Regions from separate parts of the Homo sapiens genome. Here regions 2, 3, 4, 5, 6 and 7 are each linked to region 1. The links are contacts of gene promoters, found by promoter capture Hi-C in human tissues and cell types (Jung and others, 2019). All regions are on one chromosome and are shown on one strand. Each heading gives the region's core, a stretch centred on a gene start or on the middle of the fragment in contact. The rest is flanking DNA. Distances are from core to core; before and after follow the strand shown. Region 1 holds the start of CEMP1 (cementum protein 1). Region 2 overlaps NHERF2 (NHERF family PDZ scaffold protein 2). Region 3 holds the start of KREMEN2 (kringle containing transmembrane protein 2). Region 4 overlaps TRAF7 (TNF receptor associated factor 7). Region 5 has its middle 12 kb from the start of PRSS22. Region 6 holds the start of CASKIN1 (CASK interacting protein 1). Region 7 holds the start of DNASE1L2 (deoxyribonuclease 1 like 2).

What was found. Contacts are between HindIII fragments. The study calls those that stand out against the background at their distance.
Region 2: a contact is called between a fragment that was not itself captured here and the fragment with the promoter of CEMP1 in region 1, in 2 of the 25 tissues and cell types used here (dorsolateral prefrontal cortex and lymphoblastoid cells).
Region 3: the fragment with the promoter of KREMEN2 here is called in contact with the fragment with the promoter of CEMP1 in region 1 in 4 of the 25 tissues and cell types used here (adrenal gland, dorsolateral prefrontal cortex, lymphoblastoid cells and 1 more).
Region 4: a fragment that was not itself captured here is called in contact with the fragment with the promoter of CEMP1 in region 1 in 3 of the 25 tissues and cell types used here (dorsolateral prefrontal cortex, mesenchymal stem cells and spleen).
Region 5: a contact is called between a fragment that was not itself captured here and the fragment with the promoter of CEMP1 in region 1, in 1 of the 25 tissues and cell types used here (dorsolateral prefrontal cortex).
Region 6: the fragment with the promoter of CASKIN1 here is called in contact with the fragment with the promoter of CEMP1 in region 1 in 3 of the 25 tissues and cell types used here (dorsolateral prefrontal cortex, lymphoblastoid cells and spleen).
Region 7: a contact is called between the fragment with the promoter of DNASE1L2 here and the fragment with the promoter of CEMP1 in region 1, in 4 of the 25 tissues and cell types used here (IMR-90 fibroblasts, dorsolateral prefrontal cortex, lymphoblastoid cells and 1 more).

What each region holds. Positions count from the first base shown.
Region 1 is chr16:2,530,020-2,532,812 of GRCh38, reverse strand. It overlaps CEMP1 (cementum protein 1), which reads left to right and starts at 1,405. Exons shown (of 1, transcript NM_001048212.3): 1 at 1,405-2,778. The coding sequence starts at 1,740. The coding sequence ends at 2,483. It overlaps AMDHD2 (amidohydrolase domain containing 2), which reads right to left. Exons shown (of 11, transcript NM_001330449.2): 11 at 1,396-2,793. It overlaps MIR3178 (microRNA 3178), which reads left to right and starts at 808; the gene lies at 808-891. RefSeq lists enhancers at 123-172, 1-174, 953-1,002. The HindIII fragment of the contact is 25,225 bases long and covers 1-2,793 here.
Region 2 is chr16:2,038,684-2,041,476 of GRCh38, reverse strand. NHERF2 (NHERF family PDZ scaffold protein 2) reads right to left here. Exons shown (of 7, transcript NM_001130012.3): 7 at 2,451-2,793. It overlaps NTHL1 (nth like DNA glycosylase 1), which reads left to right. Exons shown (of 6, transcript NM_002528.7): 5 at 1,239-1,344; 6 at 1,430-1,657. The coding sequence ends at 1,553. Among named protein-coding and RNA genes, the nearest start is that of NTHL1, 7.8 kb to the left of the region's middle. The HindIII fragment of the contact is 4,986 bases long and covers 1-2,793 here.
Region 3 is chr16:2,962,883-2,965,675 of GRCh38, reverse strand. KREMEN2 (kringle containing transmembrane protein 2) reads right to left here and starts at 1,401. Exons shown (of 9, transcript NM_172229.3): 1 at 1,062-1,401; 2 at 643-817. The coding sequence starts at 1,155. RefSeq lists enhancers at 1-22, 1-584, 2,553-2,682, 2,169-2,793 and silencers at 383-752, 823-1,072, 1,603-1,682, 2,233-2,362, 2,393-2,472. The HindIII fragment of the contact is 31,540 bases long and covers 1-2,793 here.
Region 4 is chr16:2,163,839-2,166,631 of GRCh38, reverse strand. It overlaps TRAF7 (TNF receptor associated factor 7), which reads right to left. Exons shown (of 21, transcript NM_032271.3): 2 at 2,631-2,749; 3 at 696-753. The coding sequence starts at 2,711. Among named protein-coding and RNA genes, the nearest start is that of TRAF7, 9.5 kb to the right of the region's middle. RefSeq lists enhancers at 705-1,477, 1,478-2,251, 2,661-2,793. The HindIII fragment of the contact is 6,093 bases long and covers 1-2,793 here.
Region 5 is chr16:2,868,820-2,871,612 of GRCh38, reverse strand. No RefSeq gene overlaps it. Among named protein-coding and RNA genes, the nearest start is that of PRSS22, 12 kb to the right of the region's middle. The HindIII fragment of the contact is 8,538 bases long and covers 1-2,793 here.
Region 6 is chr16:2,195,183-2,197,975 of GRCh38, reverse strand. It overlaps CASKIN1 (CASK interacting protein 1), which reads left to right and starts at 1,371. Exons shown (of 20, transcript NM_020764.4): 1 at 1,371-1,637. The coding sequence starts at 1,544. The HindIII fragment of the contact is 36,898 bases long and covers 1-2,793 here.
Region 7 is chr16:2,235,000-2,237,792 of GRCh38, reverse strand. It overlaps DNASE1L2 (deoxyribonuclease 1 like 2), which reads right to left and starts at 1,349. Exons shown (of 7, transcript NM_001374.3): 1 at 1,233-1,349; 2 at 833-1,015; 3 at 667-755; 4 at 492-575; 5 at 144-417; 6 at 1-26. The coding sequence starts at 976. E4F1 (E4F transcription factor 1) reads right to left here. Exons shown (of 14, transcript NM_004424.5): 12 at 2,792-2,793; 13 at 2,650-2,712; 14 at 2,051-2,577. The coding sequence ends at 2,221. The HindIII fragment of the contact is 25,906 bases long and covers 1-2,793 here.

The DNA.
Region 1 (2,793 bases), core at 156-2,655:
GCTTCTGGTGCCAATCTCCCCTGCTGCGCCCACCCTGGGTCCCTAGCCTGGGCTCCAAACCAACTCCGAGCTAGGGAAGCTCCGAGCCAGGGTGCTTCTAGAGTGTCCGGCCCACCCCTCCGCTTCATTTCCCAAGACAGTGAGGGCGGGGCTAGAGGCCAGGTGCGGAGGTGCGGGACAGGAGCCAAGCTGGGTCGTAGTGGGATCCACCTGTGCGTGATACGTAACAGAAGGGAGAGGCGAGGCGCGGGGAGGTCCGCAGGGATGTGGGAGACGCGACGGGGAGGACTGGGACGAAACAAACTAGGTCCGCAAGGGTATAAGGGGAGCAGCTCGGAGGGTTGGGGCGAGGCGGGGTCTACAGGGGTGTGGGGGGCTTGGCAGGGAGCGCTGGGGCGACGCGGAGCTCCGCAGCGTTGGCGGGGAGCGTTGTGGGGAGACGGGGTCTGCAGGAATGTGAGGGCGCGGTGGGGAGCGTAGCGGGGTATGCAAGGTTGTGAGGGTTGTGGATGGGAGGGCTGGGGCGAGGCGGGGTCCGCAGAGATGTGGGGGGCGCAGAGATGGGGGGGGTCCGCGGGCCCGCCGGGGACCGCGCAGCCTCGGGCTCTGTGCCCGGGGCCGCGCGGGTTAACTAGAGAAGGTGACGCGCGCCCCTGTTGCTCAGCCGCGGCGCGTGCCTTCCCTGCGGCGATCCTAATTGGCCCGACAGAAGCCCGCCCCCAGAAGCCCCTCCCACAGTAGGCAAGGCCCCGCGTGCCGCAACGCTCCCAGAGTTGCGCGTCAGCCTGGACTCAGCGCCTGCGCTACGAGGCTGGGCGGGGCGCGGCCGGATCGGTCGAGAGCGTCCTGGCTGATGACGGTCTCCCGTGCCCACGCCCCAAACGCAGTCTCTGGCCTGGATGTGCTCGGAGCCCACGAGGTGCAGAGGCTCGGACGGCGAAAGGGACCTGGCTGAGATCTGGGTCTTAAACCGCGGGCTCGGCCCAGCATCCCGGCAGCGTGCGCCCACAAGTGACACCCGGCCGGGCGCGGTCTGCGGGATCGCAGGCGCCGGGTCTCATCTCCAGTTCACACACGGGACGAAACGGGCCACCCCTACCAGCTCTGAGAGCATGCACCTCCAACTCCATCCCTCCCCACATGCCCGACCCCCCAACCCGTAACTCAGGCAGACACCTGGGCGTCCCCCTTCAGCGAATGCCCACACCGCGGGCAGGCCTGCCCCTCACCCCGCAGTCAGGGCGCCCTGCATCCTTCTTTGTAAAACCCATAGCTGTAGAGGGAGCGGAATGGTGGGGCAGGGCTGGGAGCCCAGCGGGAGTGAGTGGTGGGGAATGATGGTGGCCAAGGTCACACAAAGCAGTGAATTCACTTCATGTCACAGAACTGCTCAGGTTACGATAGTTACTTTTGTTATGTATTTTACCACAATTTTTAAAAAGCAAACCAAAACCAACCAAGAGTGCTTCCCCCACACCTCAAAATCATCCTGCAGCAGCTCCCTGGCCCAGCTCTCTCTCACCCTGACCCTGGGCCCCTCTCCCACCACCCAGGGCTAGCCCTGTGGACCAACCATCTCTGCCAGCCCCTCCCCGACCCTCCAGCCAGGGAGGTGGGGCGCTGGCCGGTGAATGGGGCAGGCCAGGCCCAAAGGCTGGCCCAGGGCTCACCAGCTCTGGACTGGGCGTCCCGTCTGAGGTGGGGATGACCAACATGCCAGCTCTGGGTTTTAGCTGAGGATGGGCACATCAAGCACTGACAGCCAGCAAGCTGGGCACAGGCGATGCTCAACCTCTAACACATCGGCTGAGAACCTCACCTGCCTCTCCCTGCCTGGGAGCCCTGGCAAGACAGCTCCTCTCCCAGGCCCAGCACAGGCAGGCGCTGGACAGCCACTTCCTAAGGGGTGCGCGGCCGTCAAGGCAGAGGTGGGTATCCCTGCACCTCACACCTCTCAGGAGGTCAGGATCCACATCCGTCGCCTGCTTTCCTGGGCTGCCCCTGGGGCTTGTGGGCTGAGATCAACCCCTTGTGCCCTGCCCCAGGCCCTCCCTCAGGCGAGGCCCTGCCCAGGCAGGTGGTTCTTCCCTGGCTGTTCCCTTCCAACAGGTGGGGCCCAGACCATCCTATCTCTTTGGACCTGGAGACATTTCCTTAACTGGGCTTTGCAGCAGAGGGAAGAGAACAGTGGCAGAGCCAGGCGCGTACCTCCTGTGCCCAGGACAGCACCTGTAAGCAAGGGGGAAGGGAGCCACCCACCCCAGAACTCAAATGGAGAGAAAGTCAAGACAATCACCCCTGACGTGGGGCTGCACCAATCCCTGACGTCTGACCCCACTGTGGCTGTCCTCAGAGCCAAGAGGGCTCCAGAAGCCCACCCGCCTCGAAGCTGTTCAGGGAGCCTCACGGCCCGTGTTTGCCACATGGGTGTGTGCCAGGGCCAAGGGGACACAGAAGATGGCAGGATGACACTAATGGGGTGAGCAGGGCACACTGGTGCCTCCCATACTGCCCTCCAGCACCAGGCAGGGTCACCACAGCCGGCAAGCACTGGGCCTGGGGATGTGTGAAGAGATAGGGTTATTGAGAAGAGAAAACAGAACGCTGGTCATCCGTGGCACTCAGGGCTAGGCAGTCCAGGGAGCAGAAAACAGGGGTCCCGGGCCCAGTCTCCCTCCTGGAGGTCAGAGCGGAGCCCCTGGCACTGTGCCCTGGCCCAGAACCAGGCTGTGGGCTCCACGCTGCACACCCCAACTCAGGAGCAGAAAGCAAACCCCTGACTGTCCACACTCC
Region 2 (2,793 bases), core at 294-2,793, 490 kb after region 1:
CAGAGCAAGACTCCGTTTAAAAAAAAAAAAAAATGCCACAGCCATAGATTGCTGGCTCCGGTCCCAGCTCTGCACCTCCTGGCTGGGTGACTCTGGGCCAGGCCCTTGGCTTCTCTAAGCTCTGGCCACAAAGTGGGTGAGGCAGTCCTCGTCATTCACTGTCCAGGTGGGCAGGAGGCTCACACAACGTGACGTGGCCTGACTCAGCCTTGAAGCATGGCCACTTCCGTGTTACAGAGGAGGAAACTGAGGCTCAGAGCCCCAGGGGTGTGACCCCTCAGGCCTTGTGGTCTCCCCACACCCTCGGACACCTTTTTCTAGGCAGCAGCGAAGGAGCTGGTGCAGGCCTCGGCTTTCTCTTTGGGAAACACGGGAGGAGGAGGCAGGGCTGGGGCTGCAGCTGGCCGGGGCCACCGGGTGGGAGAAGGGAGCCCCAGTGAGCAGACGCCTGGGGTGGCCAGCTGAGGGGAGCAGGAGCCAGAACCCAGGTGGACAGCAGCTGCGGCCGGCCAGGGCATGCTCCCGCTGTGTCCCTGACCGCTGCAGTGGCAGGTGCTAGGTCTGCAGGCAGTGACCTCATGCCGGCCTGCCAGGCAGAGCTGTTGCCACCCAGCCTGGTGCCCAGAGCCAGTGCTTATGCCGAGAGGAGCCTCAGGCCACAGGAGACAGACAGAGGGAAGCCTGGATGGACCCTTCCGGGGACAGGGCCACGTTCCTGGGGAGGCTGAGGGCTGAGAGGTGCTTCGGAGTCGGGATCCTGCCGGGCCTCGGTTTCAGCATCCGTAGGACCTCATGAGGACTCACTGAGCTGGCCAATCTCTCTGGCAGGGTCTGGCCCCCAGCAAGCGTTTGTCCAAGCGAGCTGTCGCTGTTATTGTGGGGAATAGAGCTCCAAGCAGAGCCGAGTCATCACCCCCAGGCCCTGCCCAAAGCAGAGACCCCACCACCCACACATCCAACTAGCACCAGTGTTGGGAGTGGGCAGCCCAGAACAGAGCCCCCCAGGCTGGCTCAGGTGATGGGAGAGAGGCCTGCACCCCAACAGAGGGCTCAGCCCCTGCCCCAGCACCTCAGGGGCAGCCAAGATGGTCACATGTAGGCTTGCAGCCAGGGCTTTGCGGTTCCAATGTCTAACTGGAGGGCCACGGGGGTGGTGGCAGACTCGCCTCTGGGCGGGGAGGGGCACGGGCTAGGCTGGTGGAGTGTGCCCCTGTTCACCCCGCTTGGCCTCCCAGCAGCAGTGGACACGCATGTGCACAGAATCGCCAACAGGCTGAGGTGGACCAAGAAGGCAACCAAGTCCCCAGAGGAGACCCGCGCCGCCCTGGAGGAGTGGCTGCCTAGGTATGAGTATGTGGGGGGCTTCCTAGGGAGAAGAGCTCACCCCGCCCGCCCTCTGTCAGCACTGACCCAGCCCCCACCCCCACAGGGAGCTGTGGCACGAGATCAATGGACTCTTGGTGGGCTTCGGCCAGCAGACCTGTCTGCCTGTGCACCCTCGCTGCCACGCCTGCCTCAACCAAGCCCTCTGCCCGGCCGCCCAGGGTCTCTGATGGCCGCATGGCTCTGGCCGAGGTGCCGCTGTGGCCACCGTCTGTGAAGTGGCTTTACGCTTCAGGAAGCCACGCCTGTTGAATAAAGCTTTGGTGTGTTTGCAGATGGGATCTGGCTGATGTCTGTCCCTGAGGGGGCAGAGAGCCTGGGAATCGCATACAAGGATGTGTTCGTACACACCCGTGCTCGCGTGTCTGGAGCAGGGCTGCCTGGGAGGCCGGCTGGGGACGTGACAATCTTTGCTATGTACTCAGGGAGGGGGAGGGGGTGTGCATGAACCTGGGAGGGAGGAAGTGGGGAGAGCCAGCTGCAGCCAGCTGTTGGAAGTCCGCTGGGGAAGCAAGCAGCCCCCGGGCAGCTGGCTGGGGACCCTGGCCCCTCATGCTATCCACCGCCGGCCCCCCAGCTTCCCAGCCCGGACACCGCCAGCTCCTGAACTTTCATGCCCTCAAAGCCCAGCCTCTGCCAGGGTCCCACCCCTGTTTACAGAGCTACCCGGCCTTGAAAGGGACACTGGGGACCCAGGCAGGGCGCCACAGGGTACAAAGCTTGACCTGTGACTGCTAGAGGTCGCAGGGTGAATTGGGCAAAGGGTGGCCCGTGTGGGTGTTGTGTGGGGCCGGATGGCTTCACAGGGAAGGTGAAGGTGGGAGGCTGAGTCTGCCAAATAAGAGAGATGGGCATGGGCCCAGGATGTGCCACACAGCAGGGGGTCCCATGGGGGTCAGCGGGGGAGATGGAGCAGGGCTGGGAGCAGATGGATGCAGGGCACGGGCTCAGGAACGAGACCGTTTCCAGCTGCTGAGACTCGGGGAGGGGGCTCCCTGAAACAGCCTCATCCCTCCACCCCTCTCACCCCACGGGGAGGAGGCTCAGAAAAGACAGAGGCGTGTGGGTCCCAGGCAGGGCCTGTTTATCCTGAGAGCGCGCATGCGCTATGGCTTACGAGGCAACAGCGGTGCCGGTCGATCGGTGGTCGGTTCGGGGGTGCGGGGCCCGGGAGGGAAGTGCAAAGTCAACAGGGTGTCCACGGGGGAGCCCGCCAAGCAGGGCTGAGCCAGAGGCCAGGCGTCCTTCCCGGGTGCCGCTCTCACACACCTACGTTCCCCAGGCCTGGGAGCTGCCGCGCGGAATGAGGGGCCTGTCCAGAGGCCGCCCTCCTCGGGGACGTGGGGCCTCCATCCTCAGGCCCCTCGGAGAGCCCAGGCCCCCAGCAGGGCACAGGCGCACAGGGTAGCT
Region 3 (2,793 bases), core at 152-2,651, 430 kb before region 1:
CCTCAGCCTCCTGAGTAGCTGGGATTACAGGCGCCCGCCACCATGCCCCGCTAATTTTTTGTATTTTTAGTAGAAATGGGGTTTCACCATGGTAGCCAGGCTGGTCTCGAACTCCTGACCTCAGATGATCCGCCTGCCTTGGCCTCCCAAAGTGCTGGGATTACAGGCTGAGCCACCGCGCCTGGCCTCCAACCCCACTTAAAAGCAGAAGTGAGCTCCTGAGCTTTGCGGCTCTCCTCCCGCTGGGTCCATCCTGCCTCAGACCGTAGCTGTGGCTCTGAACCCCAAAATAAGTTGTATGACAAGAGCCCCACTCTGACAAGGCCCCGCCCATTCGGCCCCCGCTCTGACCAGGCCCCGCCCATACGGGTCCTTTGAGTGCCCAGGTCCGTTTCTCTCCTGGCCCTGAACTGGAGCTCTGCAGAAATTGTTCACCTGAGGAGGATCCCTTTTGCGCCAGGGTTCCGCGCGCCCCGCCCCGCCCCGCCCCGCCCCTCATTCTGGCCCCGCCCCCAGGTTCTCCAGGAGGCTGGGCTGCCAGTCCACGGCAGACCTCCACCCCGCCCGCACGGAGGCCCCGCTTCGGGCCATCCCTGCAATGGTGAGCCCAGCCTCGCCCCCAGCGCAGGCCCCGCCCCTCACCGGCAGAAGTTGTGCGCGCCCAGCCCCCAGCGGCCGTGGGGGTCGCTGGCGCTGCTGTAGCTGTGTTGCTGCGTCTGGTCCCAGAAGAGGCACGGGCGGCCCGCCCCGCGCGGGCCAGTGCGGTTCTGGTGGCCGCGGTAGTCAGCCCCATTCACCTGGAAGCATTCGGACAGGCCTGCACGGCAAAGGCAGGGCCTGGGGAGGTCCGGACCCACGCCGGGCATCCTCGCGCCCCTACGCCACCTCCCGCCTGGGTCCCCAGCCAGCGACCCCGCACCCGCCCCTGCAGGAGCCCTCGGGCTGCTCAGCTGCTCCGGCCACCTGCTCTGTCCCCCTCCCTAGCCTTGGGGGCCTGGCCCTGGGGGCGGAGGCCGAGGAAGGGGTGGTGAACACGGCCCGACAGCCGTGCGGGGACTTACCTGGACTGTGCAGGCTCCCAGCCGAGGCCCCACGCGGCTGCAGCAGCGGGAGGAAGAGGAGAAAGAGGAAGCCCTGCAGGGCTTGTGTCCCCATCGCTCTCAACCAAGGATAGGTCACCCTCGCCCGGACACGGCCCGGGCTGCCCCCGGGGTCGCTTCGGGGTCTCCCAGGAGACCTAGGGGGCGTTGTCCTCTGACAGTCTCCCCTCGTCCGACTCTGAGCCGCGCTTTCCGTCTGGGGTGGGTAAATCTCTCCTGGGGGTCTTTGCCTCCCAGGGCCTCTGCCCCTAGAGGCGTCTCTCTGTCCCTGTCCCTACCCGGGTCTCTCCGGGGGGAATCTGGCCGGGGGCGTTCTCAGTCTCTGTCTCAGCGAGCTCTGGGCGGTGCCTCAGCCTCTACGCCCGCCCCCTCCCACTGAGCCTAGCTCTCGGCGTCTCCCTCGCCCAGGTCTCCAACGGGCTGACTCCTGCCCGCCTCGCATCCCTCCGTGGGTCCCTCCCCCTGGGTCTCTCCCTCCCCCCATGGGAGGCCGGGAAGCCCCGCCCAGCACTGGAGCGGAGGCAGCAGGTCCAGACGCCTCCCACGCCCGTTCCCCCGACCCCGGGCGTCCAGCGCTTCCCGGCCCCCTCTCCCTCAGGTCGGTGCCGGTTCAAGTGGGAAGGTGTGGAGGGGGACAGGCGGGGCAAGCGGACGGAAGGCCCTTAAAATGGGAGATACAGAACCCCCTCACGTGGTCGCACGCGCCCCAGGACACCCGGAATGTCCGAGTTACAAGCGCCCTCCTCCCAGTGCACGCACGCGCTCGCACTCTCTCCCATTCATTGCCAGGCGCTCACGCGCACACTTTCTTCGGATCCGCACGCCCCTCCCGCCCCTGGTCCAGATGCCGCTGGCCTGACGGAGGAAGCTCCACTCCCTGCCCCCGCGCCCACGAGACAGGCGGGAGTCGTGGACGCTCAGTCCGGGACAGGCAGGGGCAGCTGGTGTCTGGGGAGAAAGGCAGCTGCGCCCCAGGTCCCAGTCTGTCCCCTCCTCCTCCCCCTGCCCCGCCCTTCCCTGGGACCCCCAGCCCAGACTCTCCCGAGCCTTCACACTGCAGTGGAATTCCCCCAGCCGTGCCCCCCACCTGGCGGGGGAGGGGGAGGGGAGCAGGCCCAGGCAGGCGTGGGGGGAAATTCCCCGCCCCCTCCCCCTGGGCCCGACTCCTCCGAGTCCTCTGATCTCCCAGCGCCACCCGCCCGCTGCCCCCAGGGCTTGGGGGGAGGCCAGCGCAGGTGCGTGGGAGGGCGGAGGCGGGGGCCGGGGGAAGGAACTGGTGGGGGCCGGGCGCCCAGAGCGGCCCCGCCCCGCCCAGACCTCTTTGCCCCTCAGTCCAGCCTGCCCAGCCCGCACCAGGCCCTCGCCAAGCTGTCGAGCCCAGGCCGACCAGTCCCCGCCCTGCAGCCCCCACACCGTCTCTGCCCCGGTGTCGATGGAGAAGAAAGATGGGGTTCAGGGAGGTTCTGTCAGGCCCAGGCACCCACTGCGGTGCTGGGACCCGCGAGGATCTTCCAGCTGGCGCCTCACGCGAGTGTGCTCTGGAGGAGGGGCGTGGAGCCGAGGTGGGGGCATTTGAAGGAGATGGACTTGCTGAGACTCTAGGCCAGGGTCCTGGTCGCCTCCTCCGGGAGCCCTCTCAGAGGCCAGGCTGGCCCGGCTCACTGAGCCCTGAGCTGGGGCCTCCAGCACCCAC
Region 4 (2,793 bases), core at 216-2,715, 370 kb after region 1:
CCAGGAATTTGAGACCATCCTGGGCAACATGGTGAGACCTCATCTCTACCAAACATAAAAAAAATTAGCCAGGTGTGGTGGTGCCTGTGGTCCCAGCTACCTGGGAGGCTGAGGTGGCAGGACTGATCCCAGGAGGCACAGGTTGCAGTGAGCCAAGATTGCGCCACTGCATTCCAGCTTGGGTGACAGAGTGACACCCGTCTCAAAAAAACAAACCAGACTTATGGATCTCTTCCACTCTCCCTCCCTTCCTATTAACATGTCACAACTGCAGCACTGTTACTGAAGCCCTAGGGCCAAACTCAAGAGAAGACCTCCGGGCACACGGGACCTTTCGGAGGCTGGCCAGGAGCCTGAGACTGGGGACAAGCTGGGGATCACTGTGACAAGGGACAGGGCTGTGTGGTGGTGCTGGAGATGTCAGGGCAAGCCTCCCTAGAGGGGATGAAGAGGGCAGGGAGAGAGGGCACAGCACAGTCACCGAGGCACAAGGAGCAGGACACCCGACTCCTGTCCAGTGGGGAGGCCCAGGGCTGAGAGGCTGTGAGGACACAGGCTGCGGTGTGAGGCTGCCCGCGCCCAGCACTGGCACCCAACACCAGCTCACCGGGAAGTGTCCCTCAGTCCTTAGCAGGGTGGGCATGGGGGTGCCCCGGTTATTCCCAGCCTGGGCTGGCCTTGGCTTAAGGGCTCACCTTTTGTGATGGTGGTGACGGCTGAAAAGGCGGGTCCGAAGGTCGTTTCCATTCTGGTCTAGAGGGAGGACGGAGGAGACCTGGCCTCATTCCGGGACACAAGGAGGACGTGCACATGTGGAGCCCACTCACATGCCTAACACGCGACCAGGCCAGGCCACGCAGCACTCACACACTTAACCATGCGACCAGGCCACGCCACGCAGCACTCACACGCTTAATCATGCGACCAGGCCGCGCCACGCAGCGCTAACACGCTTAACCATGCGACCAGGCCAGGCCACGCAGCACTCACACGCTTAACCATGCGACCAGGCTGCGCCACACAGCACTCACACGCTTAACCATGCGACCAGGCCAGGCCACGCAGCACTAACACGCTAAACCATGCGACCAGGCCAGGCCACGCAGCACTCACACGTTTAACCATGCGACCAGGCTGCGCCACACAGCACTCACACGCTTAACCATGCGACCAGGCCAGGCCACGCAGCACTAACACGCTTAACCATGCGACCAGGCCAGGCCACGCAGCACTCACACGCTTAACCATGCGACCAGGCCGCGCCACGCAGCACTCACACGCTTAACCATGCGACCAGGCCGCGCCACACAGCACTCACACACTTAACCATGCGACCAGGCCGCGCCACGCAGCACTAACACGCTTAACCATGCGACCAGGCCGCGCCACGTAGCACTAACACGCTTAACCATGCGACCAGGCCAGGCCATGCAGCACTCACACGCTTAACCATGCGACCAGGCCAGGCCACGCAGCACTCACACGCTTCAGCATGCGACCAGGCCAGGCCACGCAGCACTCACACGCTTAACCATGCGACCAGGCCAGGCCATGCAGCACTCACACGCTTCAGCATGCGACCAGGCCAGGCCATGCAGCACTCACACGCTTAACCATGCGACCAGGCCAGGCCACGCAGCACTCACACGCTTAACCATGCGACCAGGCTGCGCCACACAGCACTCACACGCTTAACCATGCGACCAGGCCAGGCCACGCAGCACTAACACGCTTAACCATGCGACCAGGCCAGGCCACGCAGCACTCACACGCTTAACCATGCGACCAGGCTGCGCCACACAGCACTCACACGCTTAACCATGCGACCAGGCCAGGCCACGCAGCACTAACACGCTTAACCATGCGACCAGGCCAGGCCACGCAGCACTCACACGCTTAACCATGCGACCAGGCCGCGCCACGCAGCACTCACACGCTTAACCATGCAACCAGGCCGCGCCACACAGCACTCACACGCTTAACCATGCGACCAGGCCGCGCCACGCAGCACTAACACGCTTAACCATGCGACCAGGCCGCGCCACGTAGCACTAACATGCTTAACCATGCGACCAGGCCAGGCCACGCAGCACTCACACGCTTAACCATGCGACCAGGCCAGGCCACGTAGCACTCACACGCTTAACCATGCGACCAGGCCAGGCCACGCAGCACTAACACGCTTAACCATGCGACCAGGCCAGGCCACGCAGCACTCACACGCTTAACCATGCGACCAGGCCGCACCACGCAGCACTAACACGCTTAACCATGCAACCAGGCCGCGCCACGCAGCACTAACACGCTTTACCATGCGACCAGGCCAGGTCACGCAGCACTCACACGCTTAACCATGCGACCAGGCCGCGCCACGCAGCACTCACACGCTTAACCATGCAACCAGGCCGCGCCACACAGCACTAACACGCCCCAACCACACACGCACGCGTGCGCGCGCGCGCGCGCGCGCGCACACACACACACACACACACCACACCCCCCCCCACCGAGCTCCCCTGAGACCCCAGCTCGGGACGGGACTGCGCTGGGAGCTCTGCAGGCAACACCAGATCCCTGGGGCATGCTGGGGGTCCTGGGGATGTTGGGCTTGCAGAGGGGCACACCCTTACCCCTGTGGTGACGTCTGGGGTGGGAAGATTGCTGGGCCCCCCGGAGAAGCGGTTGTAGCGGGCACTCTTGCCTGAGCTCATGCTCTAGAGAGGCATCTACGGTCCTTGGGAAGCACCTCCTGTGGGTGGAGCACAAATGAGGGGCTTGAGAGATGGAGCCCAG
Region 5 (2,793 bases), core at 148-2,647, 340 kb before region 1:
GGCTGGAGTGCAGTGGCACAATCACTGCAACCTCTACCTCCTGGGTTCAAGCGATTCTCCTGCCTCTGTCTCCCGAGTAGCTGGGATTACAGGCATGTGCCACCATGCCAGCTAATTTCTGTATTTTTAGTAGCGACGGGGTTTCACTATGTTGGCCAGGCTGATCTTGAACTCCTGATCTCAAGGGATCCACCCACCTCAGCCTCCCAAAGTGCTGTGATTACAGGCGTGAGCCACTGTGCCCTGCTGTAATTATGTTACATCGCTCCTTGAGGGTTCTGCTTCCTCGATCACACAAATGAATTTTACCCTAACAGATATATACAGATATATCTTACGTTGATGTCATTTTAAATCACTGGGGAATGAAAAGATGATTGATTCAATAAACATTGCTGAAAAAATTACTTAACATATTTGGAAAATAGTATATCTTTATATTGTTCATAAAAATGTTTTTAAAACCTCAAACTATAAACATATTGGGAAAAGTAGAATATGCTTGCAACCCTGGAATACAGAAACAAAATGCAAACATCATAAGGATCGAAACGTAAATATATCAAAATTATAAGTTATTTAGAGGCGGTTTTTCAGGTTTGACCTACAGATTGTTAAAATAAAAATTATTGGTAGCCAGACTCAGTGGTATGAGCCTGTGTTCCCAGCTACTCGGGAGGCTGAGGCAAGAGGATGGCTTGATCCCTGGAGTTCAAGGGTGTGGTGCACTATGGTCACGTCTGTGAATAACCACTGCACTTCAGCATGGATAATATAATGATACCCTGCCTCAAAAAAAACCTGAGGGATTCACTGTGAGTCAAGGCATCCAGCTATATGCTAAAGTTGAGCAAATTTTACAAAATGCTGAGAGAGAAAAGAGATAAAAGGATAGACAGACAGACATGCTTGAATGGAGCTTTGGGGATAAAGGACATTGTGGGCCAGATATACAGCCACCAACCTTCGGCCACGCTGCGGAATCAGGATTCATTCTTGGCTAGATTGCAGAGACAGGGCAGGAGACACAGCTGAAGAGCTGGTTCGCTGGAGACAAGAGAGCTCAAGCCTGGAGAACAGTAAAGAACCTCCCCTGCCAGGCGCAGTGGCTGACACCTGTAATCCCAGCACTTTGGGAGGCCGAGGAGGGCGGATCACGAGGTCAGGAGATCGAGACCATCCTGGCTAACACAGTGAAACCCTGTCTCTACTAAAAATACAAAAAATTAGCTGGGCGTGGTAGCATGTGCCTGTAGTCCCAACTACTCAGGAGGCTGAGGTAAGAGAAGTGCTTGAACCCAGGAGGCTGAGATCGCACCACTGCACTCCAGCCTGGGTGACAGAGCGAGACCCCGTCTCAAAAATGCTCAGTCTGCAGTGAGAAACTCTAACCCTCTCCAGCTTCATCTCCCATCAGTCTCCTGCGGTTTTTCCTTTCCAGGCTTTGCCTAGGCAGTTTTCACATGCTGTCATCTCCTGTCTTCCCTTTTTTGACAGCGTCCCTCTGACTGTAAGCCCTACGAGTTCTGGGTTGGCTCACTGCTTCCTTGCCTCCTTCAGGCAGAGTGAGTTGCTCTCCAGGACTTCAACCTGCCTTCTCCCCCAGTGTGTACATCACAGTCACAGTGATTGTCTGTTTACTATCTCCTGCCTCAGAAGACTGAGCTCCTGGAGCCAAGGATCGCGGCTTAAGCTCACCCCTGCAGCCCCATCTCTCTCTACACAGGCCTAACACACGGTCAGTGTGGAACAAAGTCTTGGTCTCCCTGCTGCTGGTTGTTCCTCTCCTCAACCTGTTCCACAAACAGATGGCTGATTCTCATCCTAAAGCAAAGTTGATTTTATCACCCCCAACTCAAAATCCTTCCCTGGCTGACTTTCGCTTTTGAAACGCTTTCAATTGTTAGCATTCAGGCCTTGCACGTGGTGCACCAAGGGCTGTTAGGATAATTGGAGAGAAAAGGTTGAGGTAAGAGTCCCGGTGAGGGTCAAGGTTAGGCAAACTGATAAGTAAATTGAGAGCCCAGCGAAGCACATAATTTCCTCTCTCCTGCTCTTCCTCAAACACTCATGGAGCACCATGTGTCAGTTTCTGCGCTGAATCTTAATAAAGCAGAAAATGATTATGTTCCTATGCTGACCCCAAAAAGACACGGACCTTGTTCTGTCTCTCCACGTTGGCTATTGTCTGACTCCAGTGGTATGCTGCTGAATGTTTAACAACTGACTTTCTGGGAAGAAAAAAAAAAAGCCCTGATTTCTACAGTTTACCAATTTCTATGGTGTAAATATTCCCACCATAGCCGATTTCAAGTCTCCAATATGATGTCATTGAACATAGAGTTGGAAAGAAACGTGCAATAGCACACTATTATATAGTATTCCCACCATACAGATAAGATGGATGTAAATCACTCCAAGAACACAGATAGTAGTAAAACAGCAAAACAATTAACCAGTGATACATTTTGAGTGTTTTCTTTCTTCATTTGTTTATTTATTATTTTTTGGACAGTAAGTCGTTCTGTCTCCCAGGCTGGAGTGCAGTGGCATGATCTCAGATCACTGCAACCTCCACCTCCAGGTTCAAGCGATTCTCCTGCCTCAGCCTCCCAAGTAGCTGGGATTACAGGTGCGCGCCACCACGCCCAGCTAATTTTTGTACTTTTAGTGGAGATGGGGTTTCACCATGTTGCCCAGGTTGGTCTTGAACTCCTGACCTCAGGTGATCCACCCGCCTCGGCCTCCCAAAGTGCTGGGATTGCAGGCGTGAGCCACCGCGCAGGCGTCTAC
Region 6 (2,793 bases), core at 122-2,621, 330 kb after region 1:
TTCTCTGAGCCTCAGTTTCTTCATCTGTAAAATGGGGACAGTGAGTCCAACCTCATCTAGGAGGTGACCAGCACAGTGCCTGACCCAGCGGGTACTCAACTGGTCATTGGAAAGGGCAAGAGGAAAGGCCCTAGCATTTGGGGACCCCTCCCAGGAGTGCTGGAAGACCAAGGGCTGCTACCTGAACCTAACAGGAGACCCCACGGAGGGAACGGGAACGGCCAGCTGCCCACAGGATGCCGGGACCCCGGTGCCTGTCACCTTCCCTGTCCCTGCTGTCTGACCTCCTCTGTCCCCCTGGACCTGCTCAATGGTCTGGGGCCACACAGAGTGGGGTGCCAGGCCATGCCTCATAGAATGGGTGCGACCCTCCCCAAATTCTCCAAACGGCCTTGCCCGCTTGGGTGATGAGGGAAACGGAGCCTGAGTCGGGACTCAGACCCCCACTGATCTGCCTCTAGAATGCTGCAGGCCTGACGGGAGAGGGCCTGAGGCGCAGGGTGGCCCAAGCCTTCAGCCAGGAGCTCAGAGGGTCACAAGTCGGGGCCTCCAGCACCCAGGAAGCAGGACTCGCCTGCCTGGGCTGCAGGCTGGAGAGTGGGCAGACGTGGGCCGGGGGTCGGTTGGTGCCGGCGGGAGGTTCCAGCCCCTGTGGATGGAGATGGAGGCGACCCCCAGTCGGTGCGGGGAGTGGGGAGTTGAGCTCCCTCAGTGGGGGTGGTGGGGGCTACCTTGGGGTCAGGCTTCGGACTGAGGCTGGGGGAAGCTGTGGCGCCCGCATTATTTGCGGAGAGGAGCAGGAGGATGCTTGGGGGTTGGGGGTGCGGGTTCCCTGACACCGAATTCATTATTGGGAGATTCCTCTTCACAATCCCTCGACACCTCCCACGGGAACCCTGGGCCAGGAACGCCTGACAGCCTGGCGGGCCGGCTCCAGGGGCACTGGCGCCCGGGTCTCTCGGCGCCCGGTCCCCGCCCGCCCGCTGCCTCGGAACCGTCCCCCGCGGGTCCCGCAGCCTCTGGAAGCCTCTCTGGGCTCAGCCCCGCGCCGCCGCCGCGTCGGGGCTCCCAGTGCACCCCCGGCGGCCGCGTCCCCAGCCCGGCTAGCAGCCCCAGGCCGCCCGCGTCCGCAGAGGCCTGGCCTGAGCGCGCTGCGCGCACGTGGGGAGGGGGCGTCCCGGGGCGGGCGCGGGGAGGGCGGAGCCACGGGCCCGGGCGCGCGGCCGGCGCGGGCTGACGGAGGTCGGCGGCCCGGGAGCGGACCCCGGCGTCCGGGAGGCGGCGCCAGGTGCCGCGCCCCCGCCCCGCGCCCGCCGCGCGCCCCCGCCCCCGGGCCGCCCCCCGCCCGTGACGCGCTCCCCGCCCCCTCCGCGCCGGGAGCCCGAGCCCAAGCCGGAGCCCGAGGAGGGCGAAGGGGCGGCGGGCGGCGAGGAGGCGGCGGGGGAGGCGGCGGGGGAGGCGGCCGGTGCCGCGGGGCCGCCGCCGCCTCTGAGCCGCGCCGAGCTCACGAGCGCAGCCGCGTCGCTGCGGCCCCGGCCGCGCCATGGGGAAGGAGCAGGAGCTGGTGCAGGCGGTGAAGGCGGAGGACGTAGGGACCGCGCAGAGGCTGCTGCAGAGGCCGCGGCCCGGGAAGGCCAGTGAGTGCCGGGGGCGCGGGGCGCGGGTGGGAGCCCCGGGGGCCCCTCCCCGGCGCGGAGCCCCCCACCCGGCGCCGGGCGGGGAGGGGACGTTGTCGGGTCCCCGGGGGCGGGGCGGGGCCAGCAGCGCCCAGACCCTTGGTCCGTGCCCTCCACCCGCTGCCCCCAGCACTGGAGATGGGGCGGCCCCGAGAGCCGGCCGCCACCGTGAGCCCCGCAGCGGGCACCTGGCGGCACCCGCCTCCCGGGCCGCGGGCGTTCGCATCCCTCTCTCTCTACCTCTGTCCCCCTCCCTTCCCAGGCTGCGGGCTGACAGCTGGAGGTCTCTGCTGGGGCCTTCAAAGGGCGAGGCGGATGCCCCCCCCACCCACCACACGCACCGGGAAGACAGGGAGGGGGCCCCTGCGGCGAGGGGCGACCCGGGAGGTGACAGTCCCTAGCAGACCCCCTCCCGCCCCACGTTTAATAACACGCTTTGCAGGGAAGGTGGGGGCAGGACCACGCTGGGGGTGTGGCTGCCCTGGCATGGCCGGTGGGGTGCCATTTACTGATGGGAGAGCAGAGGCCCAAGGTCGCCCAGCCCAGGGCAGGCTGGACTCCAGGCAGGGCCGGCCTGGGCGCAAGGGCTTGGGGCCCTGCTCAGGCAGGCTCCAGCAGAGCCGGGTCTCCAGCTTCCCTGCTGGGAAAGGAGGCCATGAGGGAGTGGGGGACCACCACTGGCCATCCCCAGCTTGCCCTATGGCCGGCCCCAGGAAAGGGCTGGGAGCTTGGAGCCCTGGTCCCAGCACTCATCCTGGCTCAGCGCGTAGCCTCCCTGGGGGCCGCCGGAGATGGATGGATGGGCGTGTGGACCAGCCGCGTGTGCGGCTGCGCACGTATAGCCGTGTCAGTGTGTCAGGGCACCTGTGCGGGCACGGACAGGGCTCTGCAGGTCGGCACGTGGGGTCTGGGCGTCCTCCCTCCTCCCTCCACCCCCACAGACTGTAAGCCAGAGAGTCCCCCTCCCCTTCCTCCAGGGGGATGCCGAGAACTGGGACTGGCTTCTGGGAGATTGTTGGGGGCACCTAGGAGTCCCAGGAGGACCCCCTCCCCCGTACTTCACCAGCAGCCCATGACTGGCTAGCTCCTGTCCACTCTGTGCAGTAAGAGAGAGGGG
Region 7 (2,793 bases), core at 100-2,599, 290 kb after region 1:
TTGAAGTCGCCCAGGAACAGCATGTCCTGCGGGCGCCGCGGAGCCGTGTCTGAGCCGCCGCAGGAGCCGTCGAGGTCCCGCCCTCATGAACCAGACCCCCGGGGCGCGCCTGCAGGGACCCCGGGACCGAGGGGTGGGCTTACGTCGGTGCCCCACTTGTCGATCACGTCCAGGTACACGTCGTAGAGCGCGTCGATCTCCGCCACGGCTTGATGCGGCGCCGCGTGCAGCGGGATCAGCACCAGGTTCTGTGCTGCTGCGGGAAGGGGTGGGGGCGTCAGAGCTCGGCGGGAGGGGAGGGGCGGGGCCCGCTCACCGGTGCCGGGGGCCGAGAACTTGACCACGAAGGGCTCGCGGCTGAAGACGTCCTCGGGGTCTGGGTACAGGTAGGTGTCCACGACCGACACCGCGTCTTTCCTAGGAGATGGGGAGGACCCGCTGAGCCCCCGACCTGCGGCCCCGCGCGCCCCTCCCTGCGGCCCGCCCCTCACCTGTACACGAACAGGTACATCTCCTTGTACTGGTCCCGGCCCAGGGGCTGGCTGCTCACAAAGCTGTACTCGTGCTCGGACACGCTGCGGAGACAGGGGCCCGCTCAGGGTCGGGGCGCCGCGCCGGGGCGAGATCCCGGCGGGGGGTCGCGACGAGGGGCCCTGCCCACCACACCTGTTGATCTGCTCCATGAGCGCGGACACGGCGCTGAGGTCTGGGTCTCGCACCTCCTGCACCAGCGCGAGGTCATAGCCAGCCAGGATCTGGGGAGGAGCGGCGGGTGCGGGGGTCAGCGCGGTCAGCACCCCTAAACGCCGCCCCGCCCCGGCCCGGGCCCCACCTTCGCGATGATGCTGCCGCAAGCGGGGTCCGACACTTTGCTGTCACCGAAGCTCTGAATGTTGAAGGCTCCGATGCGAAGCGCGGCGGTCCCGGCGGCTTCCAGCGCCCAGAGTGCGGCCAGCAGAGCCCGGGGCCCGCCCATGGCGCGGAGCGAGAGGCTGGGAGGGACAGACGCTGCCGCCTACGCAGACCCGCTGTCAGACCCACCGACCCACCCCTTCCCTCCGCGGCCGCCCCTTGACGGCCAGTGCGACGCGGAATCCGCCCCTGCGTTCTGCAGGCTCCCAGGGCACTGCTGGGCTCTCAGGGACCGCTGCCTTCTCACTGCGCGGGAAGCTGCAGCCGGAATGGAGGGTCCGGCCCATCCAGCCCCAGCTCAGGGCAGCCGAGAGACTCACCTTGGATGTGGGTGCAGAGGCCCGAGGCTCAGAGATCCTAGGGGGATGGGGATCCCGGGTCCAGGCTGCGGGCGTGTCCGACACAGGACTGCACTGACTCCCTCTGGCAGTAGCTCTGGCACCAAGGCAGGGGCCGGTATTTGAGGTCCTGGGCCAGGGAGGGGCCGGGCTGCACTGGGTCCCGCCCCCTCGACTCAGCTGGGTGCCTGATGAACTCCTGGCTTTCATTCCCATGGAGACCCCCAGGGTAAGGGGTGGGAGACCTGCCTGAGCCGGTTCTGGTGCCCCAGACCTGTCCCAAAACCGTCCCAGAAGCCCCTGCCAGCCCCCTAGGAGGGAGGTAGACGGTCAGCCACATCCCGGTGCGGCTGTGTTCTTGTCCTCGCCCCTAGAAATTAGGTCGCCTAGACTCTGCCTCCCTGAGCAGAATCCCTTCAGGGAAAGCAAGGCAGCGCAGGTAGGACCAGCCACACTCCCTACCCAGCATCTCCTGCTGCTGCTCCACCTGCTCACCCTGCGGTGGAGGCCGAGGCTCCCAGATCTCCCTGTCCCCGTCCCTGGTCCTCCCACCCACCCACAGGCCTCAGGCAGCGCAGCTGGGGGCACAGCTCCAGCTGGGCAGGGCAGGAGGCTGTTGGTCAACATGCCAATGACACCCACACAGCACCAAGGCGCCGCCAGGGCTGGCAGAAGCCCCTGGGTGGGGCGGCCAGGCACGTGAGTCTAGGAGTGGCCTGGGAGGCAGGTGCTGCTGCGGGGGCCTGGGCAAAGGTGGTGGCACCAGCCGCGGAGGCTGCCACTGCCACAACATCACAAGCTGCAGGTTCTCATGTTTTATTGTAAAGCAACAAGAAACTCTTATGTACACTGTCCGTCTTGGGGCGCCTCCATCCTGTGCCATCTTCTCTACCAGGCCAGGCAGGCATGGGTGGGGCGCTCAGAGTCCTCTGCCCTGTCCCTGCCCGGCCAGGACCCCGCAGACCTCATGCTAGACGATGACCGTCTGCACCTCCAGCTGGCCCTCCGGCGAGGCGATGACCAGCTCGCCTGCATGCTCCAGGATCTCGATGTCCTCTGATGACACCATGGTCACAGTGGCCTGTTCAGTGCCACTTGTCCCTGCCCGGGCGGCAAGCACAGTGCCCTCGCTGATGGCCGAGGCCAGCGTCATGGCCACCTGCTCTGTCAGGCTCTCGGGGGTGGCGATGGTGATGGTGTCGGCGGCAGCCGCCTCTGGGCCCAGCGCCGTCTCCTCGTCCATGGTGACGTTCTGCACGATGATCTGGTGGCCGGCGCTAGCCTGGTGCACGATCTGCTGCACCACCTTCATGATGTGGCTGTCCACCTGCAGGGCCACGGCTCAGCAAGAGCGGCTGTGCCAGGGAGCCTCCCCGCCCCCGCCTGCCCTACCCCTCACCTCTGTCTGGGTGCCCTCGATGATCTCCGTGGCCTCACTGGTCTCCGCATCGTCCGCAGTGGCCTGGGCAGATGGGCAGAAGGACAGAGGTCAGCCTTGGCTGCCCCTGGGTCCCAGCACGGCCCCAGGGCCCCACACCCACCT